Regions from separate parts of the Homo sapiens genome. Here all the other regions are linked to region 3. The links are contacts of gene promoters, found by promoter capture Hi-C in blood cells and fetal thymus (Javierre and others, 2016). All regions are on one chromosome and are shown on one strand. The core of a region is centred on a gene start or on the middle of the fragment in contact, and the rest is flanking DNA. Distances in the headings are between cores, read along the strand shown. Region 1 overlaps RELT (RELT TNF receptor). Region 2 overlaps FAM168A (family with sequence similarity 168 member A). Region 3 holds the start of PLEKHB1 (pleckstrin homology domain containing B1).

What was found. The method cuts DNA at HindIII sites, captures the fragments that hold promoters and counts their contacts. A CHiCAGO score of 5 or more calls a contact.
Region 1: a fragment that was not itself captured here is called in contact with the fragment with the promoter of PLEKHB1 in region 3 in 2 of 17 cell types (M0 macrophages and monocytes); the score reaches 7.5 in M0 macrophages.
Region 2: a contact is called between a fragment that was not itself captured here and the fragment with the promoter of PLEKHB1 in region 3, in 1 of 17 cell types (endothelial precursors). The highest score is 5.3, in endothelial precursors.

What each region holds. Positions count from the first base shown.
Region 1 is chr11:73,395,693-73,399,660 of GRCh38, reverse strand. RELT (RELT TNF receptor) reads right to left here. Exons shown (of 11, transcript NM_152222.2): 11 at 2,187-3,968. Among named protein-coding and RNA genes, the nearest start is that of RELT, 21 kb to the right of the region's middle. The HindIII fragment of the contact is 1,733 bases long and covers 546-2,278 here.
Region 2 is chr11:73,466,886-73,470,564 of GRCh38, reverse strand. It overlaps FAM168A (family with sequence similarity 168 member A), which reads left to right. Exons shown (of 8, transcript NM_015159.3): 2 at 2,073-2,160. The coding sequence starts at 2,091. Among named protein-coding and RNA genes, the nearest start is that of RELT, 92 kb to the right of the region's middle. The HindIII fragment of the contact is 826 bases long and covers 1,644-2,469 here.
Region 3 is chr11:73,643,966-73,647,830 of GRCh38, reverse strand. PLEKHB1 (pleckstrin homology domain containing B1) reads right to left here and starts at 1,250. Exons shown (of 8, transcript NM_021200.3): 1 at 1,205-1,250. The coding sequence starts at 1,222. RefSeq lists enhancers at 1-131, 767-1,685 and a silencer at 172-391. The HindIII fragment of the contact is 13,421 bases long and covers 1-3,865 here.

The DNA.
Region 1 (3,968 bases), core at 163-2,662, 250 kb after region 3:
TAGCTATACCTCCAAGAACTCAGCCTCCTCACCTGGAAAGGAAACAGGCCAAAAGAGGCCAAGTAGCTTGGCTCACACTGCAGCTGAAATGAAAACTTTTAGGCCTCCTTACTCTCTAATGCCTCTCACCAAATCTCACCGTGTGCCTCCACCCAGCCTCCCTTCCTGTCCTTGATCCAATATGAAACCCACCCCCAGTGTCCGAGGGGGCACCTCTGGCCACAGGCATTGTTGGGGCTGAGTCACCATAGTCAGTTTCTCCGGTGCAGGAAGGGATTTTCTCCCAGAGGGAGGCTCAGCTCCAGGTCACAGTGGCAGAGCTGAGGGCCAGGAGCAGGAGGGGAGGTGGAGACTTGGGTCCCAGCCCCTACCATTCTGGCCCATAGGGAAGAGGGGTGGAGCACAGAGGTCAAGCTCAGAACTCTTCCCCTCAGTGGTCAGCCCAGAACCCCACCCTGTCCTCCAGCTCCCACCTCCGCGTGGGCCTCTTGAACTCAAGCGCTGACAAAGCTTCAGGGATTTAGATGGAACAAGCCAGAAAAGCTTCCAGGTGAGGGTAAGGACCCTGAAGACCAAGGGCATCAGACACACTCCTACTTGAGCCCTCAGCTCTTCATCCCACTCTTGCAAGCTAGCCTCAATACCCCAAGGGACAGGTGAAGAAACAGGCCAGGGCCACACCTTTCAGCAAGCAGAAATTGGGGAGGGGGAGTCTGGAGGAGAGCACAGTGCTTACTGTGAGGGGGCGCTCAGCCCTGGCCTGGAAGCCTGCACCCAGCCTTGGTGCACCCTGGCTTGCATGTGTATGTACCTCTGCCCAGGCGAGACAGGCAGGCTGTGGAGAGGGCATCTAGACCCCACAGCCCAGCCTTCCCCTGGGGAAGGAGGCTGAGGGCCAGTCAAGGTGGAGAGGCCAGACCCTGAGATGCAGCTGAGCAGCTGGCAAATAGGGACTCCAAACACACTCTGGCAGCCGCAGGAAATACTTATTTGGGTACACTGGTGATGCCTGCTAGTCCCCTACAATGGACACCCTGTCCTACACTTTGGCATCCTTTTCTGCTCCAGAACATCCCTCCTGATGTCCAGCCTCTGTTTCCTTCCCCTCTTCTGGTGCAGGTGAAACATCTCCTGGATCTTCAGAGGTGTCCCTCCCCTTCCTGCCCACCTGAAAAGCCCTGGAGAGAGACACCTGTGCCCTAGGTACCCAAGGAGAGTCAAATCCCAAAGCACATCTGCCCAGGGTAGGAGGAGGCCCCCAGCTTGGCTTCTGCTCAGGAGAAAGGCCCCTGCCCCCTGTGAAGCCAGGCCTCCCGACAGCCCCAGCATGGCCGCCCCATAGCTGCCCTGTGCCTGCTGCAGACAGGCCGGGGACTCCCACAGGCTGGTCCTCTCCACACCTCCCCAGGTTCCATCAGGTGTCACTCTTGTTCTTCAGCCTCTCTCTGAGGCCGTTAGTTTAAATGTGTCCCTCTCTCCCGTCTTTAGACAACATAACAAACAATAAAACCCTAAATTAACTGAAAATTGTCTCTCCCCAGAGCCTGAGGCCCCACCCAGCTATGGCCTGCCAGGCTTCGGCAGGGAGCTGTCTCCCTCAATCCACCTGGCCCTGGCCCTGGTCTCCCCTCTCCCTTTAGGCGAATCCCACCAAGTTCCTGTGCCACTCACCAGGGCACAGAGCAGTCCTCCTCACCCCCCAGCAGCACCTGGCCTTGCAGCCCACCCTGCGCCCACCCCTCCCCTGGCTGCCAGGACACTGCCACGGACGTTGCCCTCCCTGGTTTCTTTCCTGCCTCCCTAGCAGTGCCTTCTCTGTGGTGCCCTGGAGCAGCCCAGGCATCGTCCCCAGGACATTTCCTCCCAGCCCAGTCCTGGCCTAAACACCCACCTGAGTGCCTGTAGGTCTTCTTGTCTCCAGGTCTGTCTCCTGAGAGCTCTGGGCCTTCACATCTGGATGGCATGGGACATCCTCCATGGCTGTGTCACAGGTGCCCCCAGGACTGCTCCTGTTGCCCCACCCAGCTGGCCCTAAGCCCCCGACCCATTTCCCATTACCAAACCCTAGCACAGGGGTGTCCAATCTTTTGGTTTCTCTGGGCCACATTGGAAGAATTTTCTTGGGCCGCATATTAACACTAACAATAGCTGAAGAACTAAAAAGAAAAGAAAAAAGCAAAAACATCTCAATGTTTTAAGAAAGTTTATGAATTTGTGTTAGGCCCCATTCAAAGCCATATCCTGGGCCACATGCGGCCCTTGGGCCGGGTTGGAAGCTTGCCCTAGGAATTTTAGATGGAGACGCTCTGTCTTGCCGGGTGTAGCACCCGCTCCTGTGGCTCCTTTCCTCTCCACACTGGCCAAGCAGGAGCTGAATGCTTTGGAGGCTCCCTGGGCATAAGGCCCAGGTGACCACTATGTGTTGGTGCTCAGCCTTTGCACATGCTGTCCCTCTCTGTGGAACACATTCCCTGGCCCGCACATCTTCCTCACCCCCAATTACCTCCCGGGCTCCACACAGTGCATTTCCTCAGGTGCTGCGCTGACCAGTGTGGTAGCTGCTGGCCACGTGGCTATGGAGCCCTTGAAATATTTGAGTTCCAATCAAGATGTGTAAGATACACTCCAGATTTCAAAGCAAAAGCAAAAACAGCTCATTCACACTTTTTATACTGATTTTATATTGAAATGAAAATATTTTGGATAGACTGGGTTAAAAAAAAATTAAGTTCACCTGCTTCTTTTTACTTTTTGAAATGTGACTGTCAGAAAATTTAAAGTCACATATGTGGCTCACACTATTTCTGTGGGACAGCCCTGCCTCTAGCTAGGGGCTTTGGTGAGAACCAGATGAGTTGATGGGTCTCCTCTGGGCCCTGCTTCCCTGGCTGCTGAGGTGCAGGAACTGTGAGGGGAGGGCAGCCTGTCACGGTGCCCAACACAGGGCAGGGCTGGACAGGTACAAGTGGAACAGGCGGATAAGCTGGGAAGGGCACAGAGAAAAGGAGCTCCTCGTGACAGCACTTTCCCACCTTTTATTATTCAACACATGGAAGGGGGTGGAGACACAAGGATAGGGCAATGGTGAGTTTCAATAAATAAGAGAAACAGGATGGACAGGCAGTGGGCCCATGCCTGCACGGCCCCACATAAATAACCAGGTTGCTGAGCCAGAGTGGAAGTCAGGGCTGGGCCTGGCAGCCGCCTGCACTGCCCAGAAGCACTGGCACCACAGGGACACAGAAACCACTGAGGCCCAAGGTGTGCTCCAGCCCCACCAAGTCTTCTCCCTAAAGCTCCTGAGATCTTGGGGCTGGCTGGGCAGGCTAGGGCTCTGTATCACAGTCCTGCCGGGATCAAGTCTATTTTTTCAGTTTCATTAAAAACAGCTGGGGGAGGGGCAGGCACATGCATTAAGCCCCTTCCGTAGGCAGAGCCATGGATGGACAGCCCCATGGGGGCCTTGAAGGCAGAGGCCCTGGAAGCAGCAAAAACGGGGCTGGATAAAGCTACTAATGGGAGGGATGGTAGAGCCCAGCTCCCCAGTCCCCCACAACCCAGCCCAGAACCTACAAAGAGCTGAAGAGGCCCTGGGTACTGAGACGTCTCTCCTTACTTCACAGTCAGAAAAATGGACCCAGCGATGGCCACAGATGTGCCCAAGATTAGAACCCAGGGACTCACTCTCCTAGCCCAGGACTTTCTGCTACCCCTTCCCTTTATAGACCTGCTGGAAGAGGAGGGGGACGCACATCTGCTCTAGGGCCCTGTACAGAGGCAAGGGTGTGGCTAATTACCAAGGAATGGGGCCAGGGGTGACGGGCACAGGCCCCTCCCCTCTGCCAAGCCCAGCCTCTGATGATACAGAGAATCCCGTGGGCTCCTAGGATCCAGCCAGGGCAGGCACGGGGGTCGGGGCATCCTTCAGGGGAGCAACATGGCAGCAGGGCCAGGGGCGGGGCTCAGCC
Region 2 (3,679 bases), core at 807-3,306, 180 kb after region 3:
CACCATGATAAAACCCACTCCTGTAATAATGGCATTAACTCATTCATCAGGGCAGATCCCTCATGGCCTAATCACCTTTTAACAGTCCCACATCTTAATTACTGTTAAAATGGTTATTAAGCTTCCAGCACGTGCTTTCTGGGGGGAAACATTCAAACCACTGCAGCACTTTATCAGTCTTTCTCATCCTGATGTACCACGCAGAGAACTGGTTGGGTAGAAGAGAGACCCAAAGCTGGAAGGAGTACAAGTAGTCTCTGTGTTGTTGTTGTCACATGAGCAACATTGCCACATCATCATTGTTTACATTTGCATGTCACTTGACAGTTTGCAACTTATTTTAACATCTATGATCGGCCAGGCGCGGTGGCTCACGACTGTAATCCCAGCACTTTGGGAGGCTGAGGTGGGTGGATCACGAGGTCAGGAGTTCGAGACCATCCTGGCTAACACGGTGAAACCCCTGTCTACTAAAAATACAAAAAATTAGCCAGGCATGGTGGCACGTGCCTGTAGTCCCAGCTACTCGGGAGGCTGAGGCTGGAGAATCGCTTGAACCCAGGAGGCAGAGGTTGCAGTGAGCCAAGATCACCCCACTGCTCTCCAGGCTAGGCAACAGAGTGAGACTCCGTCTCAAAAAAAACAAAAACAAAAACAAAAAATCTATGATCTCTTTTCATTATTAATGTCTCAATACTCTGCGAGGAGAGTGCTTTTATTTAGAGAGAGAGTGTATGTTACTTGGGTATATTTTTAGATAACTCTGGCTGTGAGAATATTTTTTTCCCTTAAGTTTAACTGAAATATATATATAACTCCTTTAACTTTCATCTTCAAGTTGTTCTAGTTTCAGTTTGTTGGCTGATGGTAATTTTATCTAGCTCGTTGCCCTGGGGTAGTTTGCCAGGGCTACACATTACGTATGTTTTAGGACATTCTGTCCTCTGAAATTGGCCAATGGCATTTTCCGTTTTGCTTATCTGATGGTCCCAGCTTCCTCTCCTTGTTAGCCCACCTTTTCTCCACATCTCATTTTTGAACCCTAGACAGACTAATCACAGAGCAGTTGTCATCATGCCAGCTGTTCACTGCCTGCCTTCAACATTTGACTTGTTTCCTATTTTGAAGTGATACAAGAGAAGTTAATGACCTAAAAAATTGCTCATCTATCTTGTGAACCTAGTTAGGAAGGAATTGTTTGATTTTTATGATGTGTAAATAATATATTTGGAGACACATTTTCAAATGTGTCAGGCTATATAGTAAGGAAAGGCTCCCTAAACAAGGTGGGACAAATTGGCTGGCTAATAGAGCTTAATGACAGATTTTCCATTAATCAGAATGGAGAATGTGCTTCATTAAGATAATTAACAGAGCACTTGTGCAGGTGATACTTATTGCACACAAATTTCCAAGTTTATTTCTTTCCCTTGAATAAATTTGGAGAGAAATCCTAGCCATATTTCCTTGTTTGCATTAAAATTATCAGTGGCAACAAATTCCCTTTTCTGTTTTTAAAGCTGCTGGTAACTGGTATCTTGTCCTCTGCAGGTGTAAGGGGCGGATGAGACACTGCTTTTCCTTCCAGCAGTCTGTTTGCTCGTCACCAGACACCAAGCTCCTCTAGTGAACCGTAGAAAGCTTATCCTTTTCCAACTCTTAGACTAACAACATTGGAATTAGAAAGGACCTCAGAGATCTTAAACTAATTCATTTTATATCAGGACATTGAAGTCCAGACAGGGGAAGTGACATGGCCAATGCCACATAGTACTCTAGTGCCAGAGCTGTCTGTGGGATAGTGGGACTAACACTGAGCTGAGAGCCAAAATGCCTAGGTTGACATTAGGCAAGTTATATTACTTCCTTGCTCCTTACTATCTTCATCTGTCAAATGGGGAAAGTATTTAACATAGGGCCAACTACAAGCAAATTGGCTTTTTTGTTTAGTCTTCTTTCCACTACACCCTGATGCTTTCCTTTCAGGGAAAACTGAAGATTATGGAGGAGAAGCTGATGTCAGGAAGAATGAACAATCAATATCAGTGCTGTTTTCTTTGTTTTCTCTGTAGGATCCTCAGTCTTCCACAATGAACCCTGTTTACAGCCCCGTGCAGCCTGGGGCTCCTTATGGCAACCCTAAGAACATGGCCTACACGGGTGAGTAGTGTGAGAATGGCTCTCATTTTGAGAAATGGTGGTTAAGGATATTACCAAATAACTTGCTCCTCCTCCTAACGTATACCTCCAAAAGTCTTGGGAAAGTTTGGGAACATGCAGAAGATATGTCTGAGGTCCAGCGGAAAGATCTCAGAGAACCTGTTGTGTGGTTGTTTCCCAACTTTGTTCTACAATAATACCAGGAGAGTGTTTTAGAGAGTCTGCAAACATTTGATTTGATTATTTTAAAATATTGAGAACTATTTTTATAAAACATGAATACGTGTTAGATGATCAGTGTGTTAAGCTTCTAAGAATGCCTGTTAATTTTTTTAAAAAATGCTACCATTTATATCTGCTTATGTTTTTAAATCAGGATTTTCTCAATGCTATGCAACCAAATTAACATTCAGAAATATATTGGAGTTTCAGCCTGATATAACTGTAACTGTTATCACTAACTTTCTATTTCCCATGTTTGTGTTTATCACAACAGTTTCATTGTCCTTATTACTTAAATTAACAGTAAATATTTTCTGTTTGAATTTGTATTTGTATATTTATTCTAACAAAATTAATTTCCAGTAACCAGGACTCATGGGGCAGTACCCTATACCCTACTAGCTCATGGAGCTTGTTGCTTTTCCCCTTTCCAGTTCAGAGTGTTCCAGCAACTTAAGTTCCTCTGCCAGAGGGAACTGAACTGCTTTGGCAGACGGAGCCCAAGGGAACCCTGTGGGGCTTTGGTTTCCTATTTGCTTTGATCCTGGCTGCCTTCGTTCTTACTAAGTTGCTAAACTAGAGAAGGAAGAGAACAGTTGCATTTATCTATTGATTTGCATCAAGATTTAAACATTGTAAATCTGGAAGGGGAATTGACTTTGTCAAATTTTCCAAATTTCCAAAATTGGAAAGGGAACAGACTTTATCTCTGCTTGGCACATAGTAGGACTCGGTAATGTGTTTTGACTGACTGGACAACAACCAGGTTCAAATCCCAGCTCTGTCAGAGAATAGCTGAGTGACTTTGGACAACTTGCCCTAACCTCCCCAGACTTAATTTCTGTGATGAACTGGGATAATATTATCTATTTCATACTAGATAATTCTGGGAATGGGACAAAATATTATCCATTTCATAGGACAGTTGTGAGAATCAAACAAGATAATTTGTACTCCTCTAGAGGAAAGGAGGATCTTTTTTTGTCTCTATTAATCACCAAGGAATATTATGAGCCTGGAACTGTTTTAAGTTAATTCCCTGCTGTAGATTCTAGGACCACACAGATAGTATAAACTCCACATAAGTAGTATAAATTCAGACTTCATACAGGCCAAAGTTTCAAATTTGTAGGGAGACTTTTATTTTTTAACCCAACCTTGGCTGTTGAATCTCTGTACTTTTGGATTTTTTTTTTCTTTTTTTAACTGACACTATGACTCCTCCAAGGTCCCAACTTTATGTAGGGGAATTTGAGTTGCAGCTCTTGGCTGTTCCAGGGCCCACAGCCTATCTCCT
Region 3 (3,865 bases), core at 1-2,500:
CCGCTCCCTCCCCTCTCCACGGTCTTGACACAGATCAGACAAGAGGGTCAGGTGCAGACTCCTTTTCCAGCCCCTCCCCTTGATGCACCCACCTTGTCTACACTTGTTGCGGATGTTGCTGCCTAAGCGGCCGCTACTCGATGCTGCTGCCACCCAACCCGCTGCGCCTGCGCTTTGTGTGCCCCGGAGAGCCTGGGGCATTTCTCTCCTCCCGCAGCGCCTGAGAGCCCAGCTGCCCCCGGGCCCCGCCCTCCGGACCTGCCCACCCCAGGGAGGGGGAGTGACGTGAAGAGATGCTGACCCGAGGCGTACTGGGACTTGTAGTCTACCCCTGTAGAGCTGGGCAGAAGCAGCCCCGCCTGCAATTTTACTTTTCTATTAAGACATTTGTTCACTCATTTATCATGAAATACTTTTTCTTAAGAATCATTGAACTCAGTTCCTAGAAAAAAAGAAAAAGTAAAGTTGCAAGGAGAAGCCAAGCTCCTAGTTTTGCATGTTTTTTTGATGCTTCCCCTTTCCATCCCCAGCTTCCAGTCTAGTGAGGGAGATTACATGGAAACACACAATTGGAGCACAAGGTGTGATTTAACAATGGAAAAGATGAGCCTGACTTTTCTCAAGGGGTTCAGGAAGGCTTCCCAGAGGAGGCTGAAAGGGGCCTTGGAGGATGAGGGGCAGTTTCCTAGGCGACCCGAAATTTCCCCTATGAATACTGTCAGGATGTTGAAGAGTGCCCAGCATTTCCGTGTGTCTAGAACATAAAGCGCAGGGGTGGGGAGGGCATCGGGAGTGTCAGGCGATAGAGCTGCAGGGTTTGGAAAGAAATAGCACAGAGGCCTTGCATGACAGGCGGAGAGCTTGGATGTTAGGACGCAGTGACTGGAGCTGGGGGTGGGAGTTTCAAGATGAGGAGTGAGGTGTGTGATTAGGGGGTCGGAAAGGCCCCTCTAGGGCACAGTGAAGAATGGACTGGCGGGAGCCCACCTGGAGAAAGGAAGACTTTCTGTATCTATCACCTCGGACTGTGATCATTTCCTTCAATAGCTCAGCCCCGCAAACCCTCACCTACCAGCAGCCACAGGATGTCATTCAGAGACCAGAGGATGTCAGGGCCTAAAAGACTTCTGTCCCGTCCCCTATGTGGCAAGGGTGCCCACCCTGCCCTGGGCCCTTCCTCCTGTCCCAGAGAACTCTTCCTTACCGGGGCTGCAGGGCTCATGGTTCCTGGGTGGCCAGGGCAGCATTTCCCAGAAGGCTCCCGCAGCGGGGCATTTCCCTGAGCGCCTTAGAGATAAGGGGATCAGGAAGGTGCTACCAAGTGGGAGGCTGGAGGGGGAGGCAAGGAGGGAGCGCACAGATCCCAAGGAAGGTCGCCCTCTTTCTCCAGGCTCCTCCCAGCCTTTCCAACTGATGGCTCTGACCCTAGGTTCACTAGACAAGTCATCCCTGATTCAGAAGTGGTCTTGGCTCAGCATCGCCGAGGTTCCCGGAGTGGAATCGGGGCGAGGTTGCGGGGGCAGGACAGGAACCGGGCTGGTCCTCCTCCCTAGGTTGGGGGCGGGGCTACATCTTCATTCTTTGGCCTGGCAGGACAGCGCCCATCACCCCAGTCCTGGCTGCGCAGTCTGGCTCTTTAAGCCTTCCTCTCTTGCTCCTGAGTCTCTGTAATCCTGACCTCGAGCTACCCTCGCTCCTCGGCCCTTTGTGCGGTGCGTGCCCTGCTGAGGGATTCGCCATGGCCAATCCTATTAACCATTGAGTTCATCCCCTCTTAGCCGACTCAAGAACCAGCTCTCCCATACCGCGTTTTCATCTCTGTGCCTTTAACTCACTCTCTGTCTGGTTCCTGGAACGTCCCAGTCCCAGCTTCTCCTAGCTAAATTTTCCACCTCCACAGTGGAAGGAAGAAAGGAAGCAGTGGGAGGGGGAAAGAGGCAAGGAAAGAGATATGGAAGGAAGGAAAGACAGAAGGAGAAAAGAAGGGAGGGGAAAGACGGGAAGGCAGGTAGGTAGGGCTGCAGCTGGCCTCGGAGGATCTGCGCCTGGGTCCTGCCCCGACCCAGCCTCTCTCCAGCTCTCCCTGCTCCCCTCCCCGATGGGCAGTGGGGCATCCTTCATGTTGAGGGGCGGGGACGGTGCAATCATCTCCTAGATTTCATTCTCTGGATTTAGCAACCAGATGAAAAAGGAAGGTTCTCCAGCAGCAGTGGAGACTTCAGGGGAAGACTCTCCCCTACCTCCCAAAGAGCGGGCACTATGACGAAAAAAAGAGGAAAGGACGTGGCAAACTAAAACCACAGACACTACTACCGAATCTAAACGTAGCCGGACTTGGCCCATGTCTCTAAAAGCTGGTCAGTGACCCTCTTTGAGAAGCCAATAAGGAAGTGTAGACTGTCCTCAGGAAAAAATCTGCGTATAATTCCTGGGAGTTCATAGACCTCTGAAGCCATGATAGTCATGGTTGGATTGTTTTTAATTTCCAGAGCTGTGTAGATGGGAGGAGAGTGTAGATTGACGAGTGAGAGGTATGACAGTATGTCAGGAATTCCAGCCGCAGCAGTCCTGGCTGTGAGAGACTTTGTTTGTTCAATCAACTAAAACTTATTGAGACTAATAAGCCAACAAGTAACTTTTACATTTCTTTGTGGCTATGGTGCACAGAACCATTGGCAGAGAGGAAAAGATTTTGCCATTTCAAGTGTCCCTGGTGAATGAACAGCCCACAGATAATACATTGTTTAGGAAATAGTGGACTGGCTCATCAAATTCAAATTTACTACTTACATTTTCTAGAGAGTATAATATAATGAGAATAATTTATATTATCTTTATTTTAAAAAACTTGAAGTTTATATCAAGATGCAATTTGAGCAAAAGTAAAAGTGCTTATGAAAACATTTTAAATGGCCGGGCGCTGTGGCTCATGCCTGTAATCCCAGCACTTTGGGAGGCCAAGGCGGGCAGATCACCTGAGATCGGGAGTTCGAGACCAGCCTGACCAATATGGAGAAACCCCATCTCTACTAAAAATACAAAATTAGCTGGGTGTGGTGGCACATGCCTGTAATCCCAGCTACTAGGGAGGCTGAGGCGGGAGAATTGCTTGAACCGGGAGGCAGAGATTGTGGTGAGCCGAGATTTCACCACTGCACTCCAACCTGGACAACAAGAGCTAAACTCCGTCTCAAAAAAAAAAAAAAAAAAAAAGAAAAGAAAACACTTTAAAGTGATAATTTTACGCTTTTTTTTGTCTTTTTTTTTTTTTCCTTTTTCTGGAGAACGGGGTCTCGCCATATTGCCCAGGCAGGTCTCGAACTCCTGGGCTCAAGCTATCCTCCCGCCTCTTGCCTCCCTGAGAGCGGGATTACAGGCGTGAGCCACTGCGCCCGGCCAAAGTGATAATTTTAGTGAGATGTAATTCACCTACCATAAAATTCACCCTTTTAAAGTAAAAAATTCAGTGGGTATTTTTTTTTTTTTTTTTGATGGAGTCTTGCCCTGTCACCAGGCTGGAGTGCAGTGGTGTGATCTCGGCTCACTGCAACCTCCGCCTCACAGGTTCAAGTGATTCTCCTGCCTCAGCCTCCCGAGTAGCTAGGACTACAAGCGTGCACCACCATGCCCAGCTAATTTTTGTATTTTTAGAGATGGAGTTTCACCATGTTGGCCAGGATGGTCTCGATCTCTTGAGCTCGTGATCTGCCCGCCTCGGCCTCCCAAAGTGCTGGGATTACAGGTGTGAGCCACCGCACCTGGCCTTCAGAACATTTTTATCACCCTAAAAAGAAACCCTAGGCCAGACATGGTAGTTCACGCCTGTAATTCCAGCACTTTGGGAGGCCAAGGGTGGCGGATCACC